Linked DNA regions of Homo sapiens: region 1 is linked to region 2. The links are contacts of gene promoters, found by promoter capture Hi-C in blood cells and fetal thymus (Javierre and others, 2016). All regions are on one chromosome and are shown on one strand. Each heading gives the region's core, a stretch centred on a gene start or on the middle of the fragment in contact. The rest is flanking DNA. Distances are from core to core; before and after follow the strand shown. Region 1 overlaps LOC105370355 (a long non-coding RNA gene). Region 2 holds the start of IRS2 (insulin receptor substrate 2).

Region 1 (5,761 bases), core at 263-2,762, 1.4 Mb after region 2:
TACCAAAGTACACAAAAGGATGGAGAATTGGTTTTATGTCTGTATGCAGATTGCAATACTCGTCTTTGCAGTGCACCTCCTGGTAGACAGTTTGCTGGGGCAGGGGTGGGCTGCCTACCTCTAATTGTTAGTAACTACTGAAGTGCGTAAAAAATGATATGACACATGTGAGTTGCCAATTTCATTTAGGCCCATTTCCAGCAGATGTATATCTATCTCAGGAAAGGTTTAATTTATTAAGTGATGAAGTAAATGATTGGATATGCCAATACAAAATACTGAAGCGCTCTTCAAAATCTAAGAGAGTGAGCAAAGCTTAAATGTTTTTTACAATTATGCTAATCATAAATAAATCAAAAAATACATATACAGAGAGAAATAAAGATGGTTTCACAAATTTTAAATCTACCAACAACTAGCAATGAAAATCTAAAAAGACAAAATGATACGGCTTTTACAATTATACTTAAATTAGTATTATAACTTAAATGATCCTCATACCTTCATTATTTCTTTTTGTATACATGTAATAGTTACATACAAAAGCATCTACAGTTTTGGTATGTGGATTTATATATTTCAGTAATTATATAAAATTTTGTTAGCTGGTATGAACTGAAAACTCAGTTTCTTGGGCAGCAGTTCTGGTCTCAGTCCAGATATTTTGTCCTTAGCTGATATACTTTGAGTTTATTCTTCCTATGCATGTTTCGGGGGTCAGTCAGAGCTGTGGGTACGTTGATTTTGGACATCCATTCTTGGGTTGTTTCCTTTGAGAATTTCCTAGTTTCTTCAATAGCTCTTTTCTGGTTTCTTATTTATCTAGCAGAAAGATGCTAGATTTTTTTCACATGTGCCCCACAACCCCCAAAGAAAAATTACCTAGGGAGTTTCTTTTTCAAAAAAATTGTATAGATTTAGGAAATATGTCCAAGTTCAGTTTTGTTACACGGATATATTGAAGTCTGAGCTTGGAGAGTACTCATCACCCCAATAGTGAACATTGCACCCAACAGGTAATTTTCCAGCCTCAGCCCCCCTGCCACCCTCCCACATAACTTAAGGAGTTTCTACCTCCCCTTCTCTGAGCAAGCCTGCTCTCCCCTGGGGATTTGTCTGCTTCTCTTCACCCTCCAGGGCATCCTGGTTGCGGCTTTTGTTCATGTCCAGCTTTTGTAGTTATTATCACTTATTTTATTCTGAAGCTTTGTCTGGTAGAGATCTAGTCGATTTTAGTAGACACTTAATATTGACTTCTGTAAGCAGAAGTTCTCCAACTCTCATTCTGACAGGCAACTCTCATCCTTATCATACATCTCCAAAGGAAAAAATATATAAACTATAGATGGGGGAAAAAAAGCAAAGTGCATGTGCCCCAAGCTTCTTAATTAAAACATGTAGCCAATTACATTACTTCATTAATTAGTCATGTTCTATGATGTTTGAATCCAAGAACCGGCATGGGAGAAATAATTGTACTTATTAAATTCATACAGGCATGGTATTAGAAAATAAGTCTTACATTTTAAACAGAAGACACAATCTCTCACAATGACTACTCATGAGAAATGAAAAAATAGCACCTTTACATCAAACTTTTTGTTATCTGAATTGTAACTTATGTGGAGTATTTACTAAGCTTATTGACAAGCTCTTTTGAACCACTGTGTTGACACAATGAGAATTATGGATATAGGAAACAACATAGAATGCACAACAAATTCTTTGTGGCCATTTCAACTCTCTCTGTTTACTTGAGATGTGAAAATTATTTTACCCTCTAGATAAGACCTTAGCTAATGTGTAATGTAAGTGCCTTCATCTATTTACAAACTAGCATCACATATAGAAAGAAATTGGTGTAGGGCAAGAAAGTAGGAATTTCACACCTTTTTGGATTTTCTTGTTAGAGTTTATGATGGGCTTTATTTAATTTTCTCAATCAAGAAACATGAACTGATCTCTTCTGTAAGTAAAACACTGTGCTAAGGAATGAGGACAGAAAAGTGAACGAGACAGAAATAGCCTTTACCCTGATCAGCACCTGTCTAGTGACAGAGGCAGACGCATCGGCAAAATAATTGCCTGACCACTGTGGGCAGGAAGCGAACTCCGTGTTTTATCAGCTTGTCTCTCATTTGCACACCAACCCTCCTATAAATTAGCATCCCTGTTTCACAGATCAGGAAACTGAGACCCAGGAAATTTAAGCACTTGCTCAAGTATGCAGATCTAAAATGAGCGCAGTTGGAATTCAAACCAGTTTCCTTGGACTCTAGCTCCCACGCTGCTGTCAGGATAGAAAGCTGCTCTTCAAGCACATAAGATACACCGAATATGTAAAAGTAAAGCCCTGTGCCATTTCAGAGGAAGGGTTAAGGGACTCCAATTAGAGAGATGTGCAAAATCTTCATGGCCAAGAAAGTAATTTCCTATATAAGCAAAAATACTGGTGTCCAATTGAAATTAATCAAAATCAAATACAAATTATTCCACCCCAACTGCCATTTTAGATACATATACATGCTTCTCCGCAATTATAAATTCATAGCTGGTAAGTTCAAAGAAAAGTGTGTGGGTGAAGATTTACAGAAAGCTTTTTCTAGTTAAAGTGTAAAATGTGGATGGTCCTTAAAATATCAAATATTCCCTGATTCATCACATTGTTTTGGTCTGGTGCATTAATTTAAAAGAAAATGATGATTTGAGACTTTAAGATAAATAAAATAACACAATCATTAAAGTTATAATATTTCTAGATAATAGTAATCTAATCATTAAAATTCTACCATTTCCATGGTTTTTTATTAATACAATTCACAATACAGATGAATTCGTTTACTCCTGGTGATGCATGGCTACTCCAGTTCAAACAAAAGTAAGCGAAATTCAAAAAGGCTGCCTCTAGGGCTCAGGACCTATTAAACTTAATTCATTATTAAACTCAAAATCTAATTAGAAATGGAAAGAAAGAAAAAGAAATGTAGATGCATTTTCCACCCTGAGTTAAAGCAGTTGGTTTAGGAAACAATGTGAAGGCCATAATAATTTAAGCTTAACCGGAGCTTCTCATCCAAAAACTTCAATGAGATGAGGCTTGCAAGTATTCAATTTAAAGAAAATGCTTTTTCGCCATTCAAAGGGCAGAAAATGAGGCTCTGAAAATCTATCTCTCAAACTCTCGTACTGGCTCACAGACAGCAGAGTGAGGGTTTTCAGGTGATGGGACGGGGGTGTTGGAGAGAGGTAGGGAAGGACCAACCTACCATTTCATAATTTCTGCAGCTCATGTTCAATAGTACTGCAAACAGTTCACTAAATCATTAATTACCTGCAATCTCATTCATTGTGATCTTTATTAAACTGCTTAAAAAATAGAACTATCAAGGGCTTTACCAAAGAAGGCCATTGGGACTCTGTTGATTTCCACATTGATTTGATGGGAGAAGAGGATTGACCGATAAAGCAAAAGAATCCAAATCCTCCCTTTGCTCAGCACACATTAGCTCACATGACCGTCTTCACATTATACGGACCAAAAGAGGACTAATCACGTCCATTTTCTTGGCCAGTCTGTATCTGGCAACCAGACTGTTTCCTGAGGCACAACCAACATTCAGTGATGGATAAATGAGTGTGGGCTTCTCCACTGAGCCCTGGCCAGACTGCACATCACAGTGTAACTGACTGGTGTTTTCTGGAGGCTGTCAGCCACTCACTTGTGACAGGAGAGCTTGCAGACAGAGCGATGGATCAGGTAGGAGGACCTGCTCAGCCCCTGGGCTGCCTGTGTTGCTGGAAAAAGGGTGGAGAGAGAGAGGAGAAGGGACTCACTGCTGGCAACAGAAATCAAACTGCACATGGCACAAGTTATTCCTGGACAGCAACACAGAGATCTGAGGCAAATTTCCATGAGGAAGAAGGAGACGAAAGAGGATGAGAGCATTTAGCCCTGAATCCAGCACACTCTGTGCAGTCAGTAAACTTATCTAGCACACCTTACAAAGGAAATAGTCTCAGGCATCATTGTACTTTTCTTCACTACATTTGACCTCTGCACCATCTTGAGATTTTTCCAGCCTGCCTCAGCTAGAGCAGTCCTCACACTGCCTGTCCACACCCTTCCAGCCCTCCAGGACCCCACGTTGCCTCCCTCTTCTCCATCTTCAAACCCCTTCTCTGGCTCATGATTTCAGCCTGTTAATGTGCCAGAGATGCCCCTCCAGCTACCGCTCCCGCTTCCTTCATCATCAAATCAGTTGAAATATGTTACCTTTTGCCATCAAACCACTTGAAATCATGTGCCTTACCTCTGTTTTCTCCAGCTCTCACCCATGACTCAGCTCATCACAGGGAAAAATCTTCTAAATCCACATTCACAAATGTCTACTTCCCACAAACGTCCTCTTTCAACCTTTGTGTACTTGGTGGTGGCTGTCTTCCCCAGGCCTCTCTCCTCTCCTGGTTGCTGGGTGTTAATGTTGAGAAGGTAGATAGGGCTCTGCAGCATATTTAGTGAGGGAAATGCTGATGTCACCAGAATGCTCTGACTAATGGTAAGGTAGCCGGTTACACTTCATCTATACTTCCTAGAAAAACATCCCCCTTGTCCAAAAAAAAAAAAAAATGCCTCAACTGGAGCCTAGTAGATACAGAACAGAAAAAGCTAATGCTGCTTCTTAAAGACCGCACTTTGAATATTCAAGATAACTCCCATGCCTCCTCCACCAACCACCAAACCCATTTCCCAAGTCTTTTCTCTCTCTTTCCTTCTTTGTTGATGGTGATTCCTTAAATTAGTGAGCATCTAAGTCCAGCATCAAGATCTATACCCTCCAATGTTAAGCTTATCATCTTTGGAAGAAAACAACCTGTCAAACTATTTTTTTCTCTAAATAAAACATACTTTATTTTATTTTTTATTTCCATAGGTTTTTGGGAAACAGGTGGTGTTTGTTTACATGAGTAAGTTCTTCAGTGCTGATTTCTGAGATTTTGGTGCATGCATCACCCCAGCAGTATACACTGTACCCAATTTGTACTTTTATATCCCTCACTCTCCCTCCCACCTTTTCCCTCAAGTCCTCAAAGTTCATTGTATCATTCTATGCCTTTGCATCCTCATAGCTTAGCTCCCACTCATGAGTGAGAACATACAATATTTGGTTTTCCATGCCTGAGTTACTTCACTTAGAATAATGGTCTCCAATTCCATTCAGGTTTCCATGAATGTCATTATTTCATTTTCATGGCTAAGTAGTATTCCATGGTATATATATACCACAATTTCTTTATCCACTCATTGATTGATGTGCATTTGGGCTGGTTCTATATTTTTGCAGTTGTGAATTGTGCTGCTATAAACATGCCTGTGCCAGTATTTTTCTCATATAATGACTTCTTTTCCTCTGGATACTCATGGTGGGATGGCTGGATCAAACGGTAGTTCTACTTTTAGTTCTTTAAGGAATCTCCACATTGTTTTCCATAGTGGTTGTCCCACCAACGGTGTAAAAGTGTTCCCTTTTCTCCACATCTATGCCAACATCTATTTATTTTTATTTTTACTTTTGGATTATGGCTATTCTTGTAGGAATAAAGTGGCATCATATTGTGGTTTTGATTTGCATTTCCCTGATCATTAGTTATGTTGCACATTTTTTCAAATGTTTGTTGCCTATTTTTATATCTTCTTTTGAGAATTGTCTGTTCATGTCCTTAGCCCACTTTTTGATGGGATTGTTTGTTTTTTTCTTGCTTA
Region 2 (5,569 bases), core at 2,648-5,147:
CAAGAATAATAAACACACAAGTAGAAAGCCTTTATAATTTCCAAGGGGCTGATCAATTCCATTAACAAATCCTGATACTTTAAATGTTTGCAATGCCATACATAGCAAATGATCCAAACAGCAGTTATATTCTCTCATGTAAGTCATTCTGTTGCCCATACACAGAGTTAGCATGTTACAAAACTCTTGTGAAATTTCAGTTGAAACATTAGCAAATAAATTTGCTGGTAAAGTGCAAGAAGTTTCCTTATAAACCCTAGATGAGGAAAAGTCTGTCCACAGTTCGTTCATCAGAGGAATGGAATTTCTCAAATGAGCTACTGAACAACATTATCTAATAAAATGAAATATAATGAAATGGTGCCACTCATTTTAAAGATTAAATATATCCTTTGACAGAAACCTGTGAAGTTAAAAATCTTTCCCTCTTAAAATACCTTTTAAATTAAAGCTATTCTAACTAGTTATATAGCATTCCACTTAATCTGCTTAGTTTTTAGATTGAGCTCACCTAAATACAAAATACTGTCAAACACCTACAGGGCAAAGAACTAAAAAAAGAAAGAAAATTTCACAAGCAATAAAATGCTATTCACCTTTCTCCTCCCATACTTGCCTTTCCTATATGAAACAAAGAAAATAATTAGTGATGTTCATTATTGGTAGTGCTACTAGTATTTGTATTGTGAACCTGTAACATATTTTTAAATCTCTACACTTTTATATAATTGATTCTTTCTTGAAAAGTAATTATTTCAGAAGACTTCTAATAAAATAATCATTATTGTATATGATTCTGTTAAAAATAGAAAAAACAAACAAACAGAAAAAACTCCCTGCTGAAAGATATGGCCATTTTATTAGCTGTGAAAGGAAAGAAAGCTTCCAAGGAAAGATCTTGGACCATGAGAAAAAATTTCAACCAGGCTGTTTGCTGGCAAGAGGCCATGCCAGCCCCAGCCAGTCCTGCGTGCAGAGCATGTTGGCAGATGTTATTAGCTGACTTTTGTTGAAAAAGTATGGAAGAACAGTTGGAAAATCACAAGGTGTAGAACAAGCTTTAAATAAATAAATAGCTTATCTGGCAATAGAAAGGGGGAAAGAAAACAAGTTCCTCGGTTGAGGAAGAGGACTGGGATACTTCTAATTACAGAGTTTCTTACTGTTGGTTTGTTTCATGGGCTGACTCTCAATGAGAATTGAAATTGTATCATCCACATTTGTATTTGGAGGTTCTAACTGCAGAATTGCAATTAATTTCCAGTTTGCTGTAGGAAATTTATACTCTCTATGACAGAATACCACGGACATAGGTGATAATTCTTTAACCTTCTCTCTTTTGTCCCCAGTCTGGTAACTGAGGCAGTACATGGGGAAAGTGCTAACTGCCAATCCAGAGCTGCTGACACCTTAAAAACACTGGCCTTTAACACTAGGATGGCCCCAAGAAACAAGCAAACAGGAAAAGATGACACCTGCTAGCGTGTGACAGGCACAGCAAGTAAATGTTCAATACGGATATGAAAATGCAACTGCATAATAAAAGTCAACATGAAAAAGAAAAAGATTGCAAAATATACTTTCTCAGAAGAAACCATCACATGATGTTTAAAAGTGGTGGTTCCTTTAGCATTGTCTACTGATGGCTGGCAACATACAGGAACATAGAGGTGGCCCATTTACATCCTCATAAAAGTGGGATGTAAGTGATCACAAAGCCAATAAAACTACACCACATTTTCTTCAAGCACCAAGATAAGAATCCCTTCATCTTTCCTGACTAGACATATTGCTAGGCAACATTTGTGAACGTAAGAAAAGGTAACAAGATCTAAAAAGAACGCCGAAGCATAATGTTCATAAAGGTGGCGCCCCCAACACACACAATCATACACACATACCTATACACACACAATCACACAATCTATTATATAAACAAACACGCACACATGCACACATAGGTGCACAGACTTAAAATGGCATTTCTTGAGGTATTTTTTTTTAAGGTATGATTTAAAAATGGAAGATCAACTTTAAACACACCTTTTTGAGGCACACTGGGTGATATTTGCCACAATGATTATTCTTCCCAAATTCAGGCTACTGATCAATAATCCTAACTGTATACATGCTAAAAATAAAAACGCTATAATCTTTGTACTAGTCAGGGCTCTCTTGGCACATAAAATTAGCCAACACAATCTTCAAGTCACATGTTACAAAAACATATTAAAATATATATCACTCTTTCAAAAATTACACTTATTTTCTCTTAGATTAAGATTTTATTACTTTTAAGATACTTCTATGAATTATAGAGGACATCCAAAAGTAAACATCCGGGACTTAAAAACAATAACCAATATTATAAGATAAATTATTGCTGTAAATTATTTCATGAAGGCACAATTAAAAAAAAAATAAAATAAACAGCCAAAGCCTGTTTTGTTGAGTTTTCTTCGTTGCGCAGGATCGGGAGCTTGCTGGGATCTGAACTCAGGAAGCCCTCACCTCACCCTGACTTGGTCATTGAGGAGACGTAATTGCAGGGGTGCTTATTTGCTATAGGCTTTGAAAGTCACAAAAGCCCAGTAGATACATGAATTCGAAGCAGTTCTCCAAGGGCATCTCCAACTTGGCAGTCACCGCCCGCACCGCGCACACAGGTAGTGGACGCCCGCCCACCTGCCCGTCTGCTGGGCGCAGGGCGCTCCTGGGGTGGGGAGGGCGCTCCTGTGGGGGGAAAAGGGGCGCTCCTGCCTCGGAGGGGGAAAGGACGCCCCTGTGGAAGGAAGGGGGGGCTCTTGAAGCGGTGTGGTGAGAGGACGCTTCCGAGGAAGGAAGGGGGTGCTCCTGCAGCGGTGGGGGGAGAGGACGCCCCTGCGGAAGGAAGGCGGCGCTCCTGCGGGGGCTGGAGAGACGCCCGCGCGGTCTCCCGGCTCAGGGACCGCTGGCTCGCGGGTCCGCCCTCTCCCCGGCGCTATGGAAACCGCACTTTCTCCGCCTGCCGTCCCCGATCTCTTTCTCCTATTACCTCCCAAACGCGATTTCAACTTCCCGACAAGCTGACAAGTGAATGGCGCAGAGGACGCCCCGTAAAGCGCCCGCGAGCGGGTGGGACACAGGCGCCCCCTCCGCGCCCCTCTGTCCTCCACGGAAGGGCGCGCGCCGCTCTCGATCTGGAGCGCGGTGCTCGCGAACCCGCGGCCGCGGGCCCTGGAACCTCCCCGCGTTTCGCGGCTGCGGGGGGACGGAGATGCGGCCGGGAGACGGGGACGGGAAACGGGGGACGGGGATGGGGCGCGCCCACCCCGAGCGCGGGAGCGGCCGCCCTCGCCCAAAATGGGGACCCCGCGCCCCGAGAGCACGGCCCGGCTCGCCGCCCATGCTTCCACTGCAAGGCCGCAGCCCCCGCCGCCGATCCCGATCCCCCGCCCCGCCCAGCCGCGGCCCCGCCCGGCGCCCCCTCCCCGGCGGAAGCTCAAGCCCAATTAATTGAGTCCGAGGCGGGAGGGAAGGGCCCTGCGCGCCGTGGCCCGCCCCGCCCCTCTTCCGCGCCCCTTTTCCCGCCCTGGGTGGCATCTCCTCCGCCGGCATCCACAACAAGCCGCTGATTAATGAGGCCGGGGCCGCCCCACCCCGCCCGGCCGGGCCGGGGCCTTCGCGGGAGGGGGAGGGGACGGCGGGAAACGCGGCCCGGGGAGAAAGGGGGGCGGGGCGGGGGCGCGCGGCCCGCCCCCGCGAGCGCCGCGCCGATTGGCCGAGCGCGCCGTCCGTCGGGGGGCGCGGCGCCAATGCGAGGCAGCGGGGCGGGGCGGCCGCGCTGTGTGTGCCTGCGTAACGCCGAGTCACATGTTGTTTTGCTCTTCTTAGTTCAGTCACTCGGTGCGCGATGTGTTACTCACTGTGCGGCGGGGACCGCGACGAGCCCGGGTCGCCGTTGGCAGCAGCAGCAGCAACACCAGCAGCAGCAGCAGCCCCGGCGGCGGCGCGGACCCCGAGCGCCCGGGCGCACCCCGGCTTCCCGGAGCGCGACGCGGCGGCAGCAGCCCCGGTGCGGCCGCGCGCGCCTTAGGCTCGGCCCCGCGGCTCGGGGACCCCGACTCCCGGCCCAGCGAGCGCGTCCCCCGGCGCCGCCCGAGAGCCCGAGGAGGCAGCGGCCGCAGGCAGCCGGGGAGGGGGGCGGCCACCGCCCGCGCCGGGCATCCTCAGGAGCCCCAGAGCGCGGAGGGCGCGGCGCCGCCGAGCGGTGCTGGCCCCCGCGGGCCTCCCCGGACCTTCCCCACCGCCTGGGCCCGAGGGACGCGTGATCGGGCGGGCGGCCGGGCGCAAGGGTGGGAGGGAGCCGCCCCCGCCCGCGCCCCCTCCGCCCCTCGCCCCAACCCCTGGGCGCCGGGCCCGGGCCGCGCGGCCTGAAGCGCCCGCGATGGCGAGCCCGCCGCGGCACGGGCCGCCCGGGCCGGCGAGCGGAGACGGCCCCAACCTCAACAACAACAACAACAACAACAACCACAGCGTGCGCAAGTGCGGCTACCTGCGCAAGCAGAAGCATGGCCACAAGCGCTTCTTCGTGCTGCGCGGACCCGGCGCGGGCGGCGACGAGGCGACGGCGGGCGGGGGGTCGGCGCCGCAACCGCCGCGGCTCGAGTACTACGAGAGCGAGAAAAAGTGGCGGAGCAAGGCAGGCGCGCCGAAACGGGTGATCGCTCTCGACTGCTGCCTGAACATCAACAAGCGCGCCGACGCCAAGCACAAGTACCTGATCGCCCTCTACACCAAGGACGAGTACTTCGCCGTGGCCGCCGAGAACGAGCAGGAGCAGGAGGGCTGGTACCGCGCGCTCACCGACCTGGTCAGCGAGGGCCGCGCGGCCGCCGGAGACGCGCCCCCCGCCGCCGCGCCCGCCGCGTCCTGCAGCGCCTCCCTGCCCGGCGCCCTGGGCGGCTCTGCCGGCGCCGCCGGGGCCGAGGACAGCTACGGGCTGGTGGCTCCCGCCACGGCCGCCTACCGTGAGGTGTGGCAGGTGAACCTGAAGCCCAAGGGTCTGGGCCAGAGCAAGAACCTGACGGGGGTGTACCGTCTGTGCCTGTCTGCGCGCACCATCGGCTTCGTGAAGCTCAACTGCGAGCAGCCGTCGGTGACGCTGCAGCTCATGAACATCCGCCGCTGCGGCCACTCGGACAGCTTCTTCTTCATCGAGGTGGGCCGCTCGGCCGTCACAGGCCCCGGCGAGCTGTGGATGCAGGCGGACGACTCGGTGGTGGCGCAGAACATCCACGAGACCATCCTGGAGGCCATGAAGGCGCTCAAGGAGCTCTTCGAGTTCCGGCCGCGCAGTAAGAGCCAATCGTCGGGGTCGTCGGCCACGCACCCCATCAGCGTCCCCGGCGCGCGCCGCCACCACCACCTGGTCAACCTGCCCCCCAGCCAGACGGGCCTGGTGCGCCGCTCGCGCACCGACAGCCTGGCCGCCACCCCGCCGGCGGCCAAGTGCAGCTCGTGCCGGGTGCGCACCGCCAGCGAGGGCGACGGCGGCGCGGCGGCGGGAGCGGCGGCCGCGGGCGCCAGG

The links. The method cuts DNA at HindIII sites, captures the fragments that hold promoters and counts their contacts. A CHiCAGO score of 5 or more calls a contact.
Region 1: a contact is called between a fragment that was not itself captured here and the fragment with the promoter of IRS2 in region 2, in 1 of 17 cell types (endothelial precursors). The highest score is 5.2, in endothelial precursors.

Annotation. Positions count from the first base shown.
Region 1 is chr13:108,334,122-108,339,882 of GRCh38, reverse strand. It overlaps LOC105370355 (a long non-coding RNA gene), which reads right to left. Exons shown (of 3, transcript XR_007063863.1): 2 at 4,311-4,501. Among named protein-coding and RNA genes, the nearest start is that of TNFSF13B, 67 kb to the right of the region's middle. RefSeq lists an enhancer at 4,330-4,499. The HindIII fragment of the contact is 259 bases long and covers 1,383-1,641 here.
Region 2 is chr13:109,784,911-109,790,479 of GRCh38, reverse strand. It overlaps IRS2 (insulin receptor substrate 2), which reads left to right and starts at 3,897. Exons shown (of 2, transcript NM_003749.3): 1 at 3,897-5,569. The coding sequence starts at 4,427. LOC124903211 (WAS/WASL-interacting protein family member 1-like) reads right to left here and starts at 3,396. Exons shown (of 2, transcript XM_047430835.1): 1 at 3,035-3,396; 2 at 1-2,880. The coding sequence starts at 3,387. The coding sequence ends at 2,643. RefSeq lists silencers at 3,500-3,669, 3,690-3,919 and an enhancer at 4,761-5,390. The HindIII fragment of the contact is 25,501 bases long and covers 1,061-5,569 here.